Linked DNA regions of Homo sapiens: region 2 is linked to region 1. Evidence: promoter capture Hi-C in human tissues and cell types (Jung and others, 2019). All regions are on one chromosome and are shown on one strand. The core of a region is centred on a gene start or on the middle of the fragment in contact, and the rest is flanking DNA. Distances in the headings are between cores, read along the strand shown. Region 1 holds the start of JAKMIP2 (janus kinase and microtubule interacting protein 2). Region 2 overlaps JAKMIP2 (janus kinase and microtubule interacting protein 2).

Evidence for each region. The method cuts DNA at HindIII sites, captures the fragments that hold promoters and counts their contacts. A contact is called where the count stands out against the background at its distance.
Region 2: a fragment that was not itself captured here is called in contact with the fragment with the promoter of JAKMIP2 in region 1 in 1 of the 25 tissues and cell types used here (hippocampus).

Annotation. Positions count from the first base shown.
Region 1 is chr5:147,780,877-147,784,552 of GRCh38, forward strand. JAKMIP2 (janus kinase and microtubule interacting protein 2) reads right to left here and starts at 1,852. Exons shown (of 22, transcript NM_001270941.2): 1 at 1,580-1,852. The HindIII fragment of the contact is 11,129 bases long and covers 1-3,676 here.
Region 2 is chr5:147,730,398-147,734,427 of GRCh38, forward strand. All of the region lies in intron 1 of JAKMIP2 (janus kinase and microtubule interacting protein 2), which reads right to left. The region is part of intron 2 of LOC105378218 (a long non-coding RNA gene); the gene reads left to right. Among named protein-coding and RNA genes, the nearest start is that of JAKMIP2, 50 kb to the right of the region's middle. The HindIII fragment of the contact is 5,993 bases long and covers 1-4,030 here.

The DNA of each region.
Region 1 (3,676 bases), core at 602-3,101:
GAGAATAATGGATAAAACTATAATAGCCCATGTGGTAAATGTAATATTACTAATACACTTTACCTACATAATTTTTTCTGGCTTTAATTCAATGAAATCCATTATCCTGGGCGGGAATGGAACCTCCTCATCTCACGCATCTTTAGTCTCCTGAACTGCCTTAAAGCCTTGACATAATAAAAGGTCAAGCAGATCCCAGTAAGCATTTGTAAATTACAATAGACCCCCATTTCAGCTACAAGCCACACATTCTCCTGCTCGCTTTGCTCACTCTCTGGTTTCATTTCATTGTATAAGCAGACTAATTTGGAAACGGCTGGGCTAGGGTGCTTGGGAATACCTAGATTTTCAAAACAATCCTACTTTCCTACTTAATTATTTACAGAAGGAGACCCTTAATACAACATCTGAGAGAACTGTGAAATGGTTCCTGGATACTGAAGGAATGAACATCAGATAGCAGCACTATTAAATAAAATGAATACATTTCACCTTCCAGCTTAGCTGTGCTTCCTGGGACACAAGGCACAAACATGAAAAGGTTGGGGTGGCATTTCAAGAAAACTGATTTGCTTCAACATTGATTTGGTAAGATGCTAGACACAAAATAATACCACAAACCGCCTCCCATTCCCATCATTGTAAATTCAGAGTCCTCAATATCATCCCCCACAAACCCAATTAAAAATAAAGAGGCAGGCTACAAATTTGCATCTAGTTCTATGACACAGATCAAACGATAGGCATCTGTTCCAATCGGTCACAATGAAACTAAGGGACAATAACCAGAGTAAATTTCACATTAATCCAAATAAAGCCAATGAATAATAATATAAACCAGAAGCATAGTTTCAAAAACATGCAATTACTTCCAGGCATGCAAGGACATATGTAACCCATAAAAATGGTTGCAAAGCACACCCTACATATAAATATGCTTCATAAATGCAATATAAATGCTAAGTGACATGTGTATATATGATCTGTATATCCATAAGATATACATGTGTAAGTTCACAGTCAAATCTACGTATAAAATAAAACTGGGTCTTGCAAATGATTTCTCAACAAGAGTATATTAGAATATAAAATAAAATGTCAAATTCTGGGGCCACTTTTTCTAAGCAATCAATAAAATAAGCAAAACCACCTTATAATGAGTCTGGTAAGCTTATGAGACACCAAATGTATTTCTGAAGAAGGCCCAACCCTGTATGTGAGAGCTGCAAATGAAATGATTCCTTTCAATAACACCCTCTTCTTGTTGTTAGCTCTTTTTCCAACCCCTGATGCTGTTGCTAAGCTTAGGAAAAAAGGCACCAAGTGGCTCAGTCTGCATTCTGAGCCAGTTAGAGATAAAATCAGAACACCATTTTTTTTTTTTAAACACAAGAGGTTGTCTTCTCACTTCTCTCTTCCTGGCAAGCTTCCTCTCCCTCCATCCTCATCTCTGTCTCCACATCTCCCCCTTCTAGTCTGAGGCACGGGAGTCATTGTTCAAGTTCAGGCCAGAAATGTATACACAGGTCAAATAAGAACACTCTAAACCAAGAAGGGAGCCCTACTGTTTCCTACTCACCATGCTGAGACCCGGAGAAGCTGTTTAAAGGAGGGAGAGATGCAAACTGAATCCATTTTCCTTGTGACCGAGTCGGATGCAGCCTCCGAACCCAACATCAGCAGTGGCTGCCGGTTTTTTTTTTCCCTCTGTCTCTGGTTGGCGATGGTGCGAATAGGAACCACCCTTCCAGCCCCACTAGAGTATCAGCAATAGAGGCGGCGGCGGCGGCAGCAGCAGCAGCAGCAGCATCACCAGTTGGGCCTCCTCCCTCTCGGAGGATGGGGTGAGCTCGGAAGCAGCCAGGAACTTGCAGCAGACACCTCCTCTGGCTCCTCCTCTCTCTCTCCCCCTCCCCCAGTGCCCCACCCCTGCTGCGGTAGAGGCTGCTGGCCCGGCAGCTGCTGGTTGCCATGGCAATGACCAATGATAAGCGACCAAGCTCAGGGGGAGGGGAGATGGGCGAAGCAAGCTGCAGGGTCTGGAGGGGAGTGAATTTGTGCTGCTGCCCTCTAGGATGCTCTTGATGTCTCCTACCCTGAACTCCAGGTCTTTTTAAAAATGGGGCAAGGGGGGCTAGGCACGGGGAGAGAATAATTAAAATTTAATTGAAATCTAGATAGAAACATACCAACGGCTTAGCTATTTTTTGCATTTTCTGTGGTTTTCCAATAAAAAGTATGAAATTTATTATCAGAAAAATAACAACAAATGTGGAGAAAATTATGTCGCATAATAGCAGATTATTATTACTTCCAAACGTGTTCGTCCTTTATAGCATCTTTTACTCAATACCAGGCAACAAGGTTTTTAGAAAGCAAACGGAGTGGCTGGACTTTGTAATAAATTAAGAGTCTGGTTGATTCCTTTGCACTACTCCCGGCTTGTTCTCAGGTGAGTTACTTGGTTTCACTGTTTTTCCAGCTACCCTTCTGAACAGGACTTGGAGGTAATTGACACATCCCTGAGGAAAAGTAAGTTTGGATAGAGACCGAAATTCCTTTCAACAACCACTATTCTCGGTAGCACAAGTTGGTGGACAGTTCCCAATCTTTTTAGTGTCAAACTCCTGGAGCATTCAATTTCCTGCAGGCAATTCCTGTCGTTTTCATGGATGCCTTTTTGGAGTTCCGAAGTCAGTTGGCAGTCAGGGTGGTGGGCAGGAAAAGGGGGAAGTGAAATCAGCAATGTCCAGTTCTAGGCGAGTTCTGTTTCTAACTATAAATTATAGATGACACCAGTATTTATCTCGTGGAGGGGTTGTAAAGATTGAATGAGATAATGCACTAAAAGCACTTGGCATATAGTAAGTGTACAATAAATATTTACTATTAGCAGCATAGTAGTACATTGCAGCCATCTCTTAATCTAAGGGTTTAAGGGGAATAACATGGCAATTTCAGGTAGGAGAAAAAATTAAGATGAGAAAATCCAAAGTACGTAATAACCATGATGATGATGGCAAAGACAGAGAGGCCCTAAGAGATTAAGTGTTCTCTACATCTTGATATTTGAGGACATTGTAAATCTCAGAGGAGTTAGATACATTTCCCAAATTCACAACTGATAAACGACAGAACCGGAATCAAAATGGACTCTTCTAACACTTACATTTGCTCTCCTAACCACCACACTTTTCTGCCACTCCTCCATAAAATGGAAATAATCTTTGTTCTTAATCCACAGAGTTATTTACAGGTTCAAATGGGTTTAACACAAGTTCCAGAGTCAGACGATCTAGGCTCCATTCCTAGCGCCAGTATTTACTATAGGTATAATCTGGAACATATTTATTAACTTCCTCAAATCTATGTTTCTTCATCTGTAAAAAGAAATAATCACAGAACCTCATGAGTCATTACAAAAATTAAACTAGATGACGTGTGTAAAATGTACGGTCTTTAGCAGATAGGAAATGTTCAATAAATGTAGCTACAGTTACTTGTTACTCATTTGTAAGTAACTAATATTAAAACATGAGAAGACTTTTTCCTGCATGGTGTCACTCTTAATGTCAGGGGCTTCTTCTAATAAAACTGGCTTGAAGATAACTAGGTGATGAGGAAAGAGTTGCAGCAGTTCCCCAGCACGTGACACTGGCTTTCCATCCACTTGGTG
Region 2 (4,030 bases), core at 1,055-3,554, 50 kb before region 1:
GGTTCCTCATCCTCCACTGCCTCCCATGTGATATCGGATCATCTTGCCCTATTTTTTTTTTTTGTTATTGTTTTTTTGAGGTGGAGTCTCGCTCTGTCGCCAGGCTGGAGTGCAGTGGTGCAATCTTGGCTCACTGCAACTTCCACCTCCCGGGTTCAAGTGATTCTCCTGCCTCAGCCTCCCTAGTAGCTGGGACTAGAGGCACACGCCACCATGTCTGGCTAATTTTTGTGTTTTTAGTAGAGACAGGGTTTCACTATGTTGGCCAGGCTGGTCTTGAACTCCTGACCTCATGAGCCGCCGGCCTCAGCCTCCCAAAGTGCTGGGATTACAGGTGTGAGCCACCACACCCAGCCCATCCTGCCCTATCTTAAGCCAGAATCCTATTAGTTCAGTTTAGTCAGAATTTCCCTTACCGCTGATGTTTGCTGTTGGTAATTTTCCTTCCACTGACCCTCACTCTGCTTCTTGGCTATACATTCCCACTTGCTCATGCTGTATTAGGAGGTGAGCTCAATCTCTCTCCCCCACTGCAAGACTGTCACAGTGGTCCCTATATTTATCATGATGGTCCTGAATAAAGGATTTTTTTTTTAACCATGCTTTAACAAATAACATTGAATAATTTTTTCTTTAACAGAAGAATTGAGGCCAAGTTGTTAGATTGGAACAAAATGAATGGGCAGGAAATGAAAGTGAGTGTCCCCGGCCAGATTCACAGAGGCAATGCAATGCAGAAACAAGGGTCACGTCAGTTCTATTTTGGATGGACAAGGGGAGAGATTTCAATGAGACCACGACGATCTGGTTTGACCATAAAAGGCACTGCTTGGAATTTTTAGAAAAAGAAATCATGAAAGATGAAATAAATCCTTTGGGGGGTTGCGAGGTAATTTACACTTCTGGGTAAAGCAATGGTAATATTTCAAGTAGCTCACGAAAGACTAACTTTACACCTGCTGTCCTGGTACGACTATTAGCAGTGTTCTAAAAGTGCCCAGGTCTGGACAATAAATTATACATAATACTCTTACTTCTGAAGCCTTGGGAATAAATGAGGACTGTTTGGAAGGATTCTCAATGAGGCTTTTGCAGAAGTTGTGAAAGTAGCAGTTTCTCAAATAACATACTTAAGTTCGTGATCTCTTAAATTAATGGTCATGTTTTTCTAGGAAGAAGACCTTTGGATTTACAGTCCCAGCAAGCACAGCAATGCCTTATTCTTTTTATCTAGATTATTTTCCTTTAAATTAATCGTCATGTTTACCCAGGAAGACCTTTGGATTTAGAGTCTCTGCAAGCACAGCAATGCCTCCTTCTTCCTTTTATCCAGATTATTTTCTTCCAAGACAACTGCAACAAAAGTTTTGAAAAATAGGTCACCTAGATTTCAAAACTATTTTGTTTCCAGCCATCTGGGGCTGAGGATGATTAGCTGTTCTTGGTATCATGGCAGAAACCCGACGCAACACATTTATTTGCACATCTCCCAGTGTTGCAGCATTGTTCTGGGTATTTGATATTCAGACGATGTATCAAGAATTTGAGCCTTGGAGAAGAAAACCACTCAGCATTTCAATTAGAATCAGTGTGTTGTGCATACAAAACATCACTACAGAAAATCTTGGAACATGTTGTATTATTACGTGGGTTTTTAAAACTAAATATTGCCAAGTAGTTGCAAGGTAAATTCTAATCTGCATGGGTGATCTCTTTTCCATCCCTGAGTTTTCCTCAAAGAAAGGTGGTAAATACAGACTCCCGGTTTGCACTTCCAAATTTTTACCCCTTTAGGTTTCCAGTCTATGTTTAGTGAATTCTTCTCAGCACACTTAATAGACTCTGTATAAAGCTTTGATTAAATGGCATCTAAGAAAGCATCCCATGTGAATCCATGTATTTCTTACAATGCCCAAAATAACTATAAAAATGTTTAGTGGCTTCATTTACAATAATTGCCATTTTTGTGCCCTTCCCCCATCTTGCTGGATAGATTCTTAATGTTCTTCTCTTTCACCATGCGTTTGTGGAGCTGCCAGCGTTCTATTCACAGCTGCTAATTATCAACACAGAAAACAGAGATGGCTCTATCTCTTGTAAGAGTATGTTAGAATTTAACTGCAGCTATTTCTCCTTGTCTGCCTCAATGGTGGATATAGGAGAAAACATAAGGCTAATTGTATTCAGATAGTAATAATGAGGTAATACTACTATTAAAATAATAATAGCAACTGTATATTGAACATTTACTAGGTGCAAAGAACTTTATTTGCATGATGTCATTAATCCTCACAAAACCCCACAATGTAAGTGCTTTCACTATATTATTTCAGTAAAGAAACTAAGCCTTAGAAAGGTTAACTAGCTTGCCCAGTGTCTCACAGCTGGGATCACACGATTTAAACCCAGGTTTTTCTGGCATTTGATTTTATTCTTAATTTCACGCTGTGATGTTTATCTTTTATGGTATTATGTTCTGAAATATCTAACACCATTCTGCCATTTGATCTCAAAGCATTGTATTAGAATTCTTCTGTCTTCCTGGCACCTTCAAAGAAATATCCAAAATTAAGATCCTTATAATGCTTACAGAATTTTAAGTTGATAGAGATTGGCTGTGCAAAACAACTTATAATTAACTCATGGTTTAGGTGAGGATTTTTTCAATCCATTAAACTCTGAAATTCTTAAGGAGAGAGATGGTATCAATCGTTTCATCCTCATTGATGAGCACAATAGTTGACAGGTAGTTGTCATCAGGAATGCTTATTGAGTAAATGTGGACAAAAAATAGACAAAAATGTTACTCATGATAATATAATTCACTTTAGATGTGAGAGCAACTCAGATACAAAAGCTGAAATGGACAATTTCAGTCCATGCTGAGCTGTGCTCAAAAAGGGATGGAATGAACAAAGAATGTCTTTATGTTTATGCTGTTACTGAGCTGCCTCATTCTTGCCTTTCCTAATTATTATCCTTTTGTGCTGGCACTTTCCACTTTGCTCCCTATGCCTTCTGGTCAGGCACTTCACTCACCCTTTGGAGAAAGCAATTTTTAAAAATATTTATCTTTTTTTATTATACTTTAAGTTCTGGGATACATGTGCAGAACATGCAGGTTTGTTACACAGGTATACATGTGCCATGATGGTTTGCTGCACCCATCAACCCATCATTTACATTAGGTATTTCTCCTAATGCTGTCCCTCCCCTACTCTCCCACCCGCTGACAGGCCCCGGTGCGTGATGTCCCCCTCCCTGTGTCCATGTGTTCTCATTGTTGGACTCCCACTTATGAGTGAGAACATGCAGTGTTCGGTTTTCTGCTCCTGTGTCAGTTTGCTGAGAATGATGGTTTCCAGTTTCATCCATGTCCCTACAAAGGACACAAACTCATCCTTTTTTATGGCTGCATAGTATTCCATGGTGTATATGTGCCACATTTTCTTTAACCAGTCTATCATTGATGGGCACTTGGGTTGGTTCCAAGTCTTTGCTATTGTGAACACTGCTGCAGTAAACATATGTGTGCAGGTGTCTTTATAGTAAGAATGATTTATAATCCTTTGGGTATATACTCAGTAATGGGATTGCTGGGTCAAATGGTATATCTGGCTCTAGAACCTTGAGGAATTGCCACACTGTCTTCCACAATGGTTGAACTAAATTACCCTCCCACCAACAGTGGGTGAAGGATATGAACAAACACTTCTCAAAATAAGACATTTATGTGGCCAATAAACATATGAAAAAAAGCTCATTATCACTAGTCATTAGAGAAATGCAAATCAAAACCACAATGAGATACCATCGCATGTCAGTTAGAATGGTGATCATTAAAAAGTCAGGAAACAACAGATGCTGGAGAGGATGTGGAGAAATAGGATGTGGCAAATATACACCATGGAATGCTATGCAGCCATAAAAAATAATGAGTTCATGTCCTTCCCAGGGACATGGATGAAGCTGGAAACCATCATTCTCAGCAAACTAACACAGGAACAGAAAACCAAACACCACATGTTCT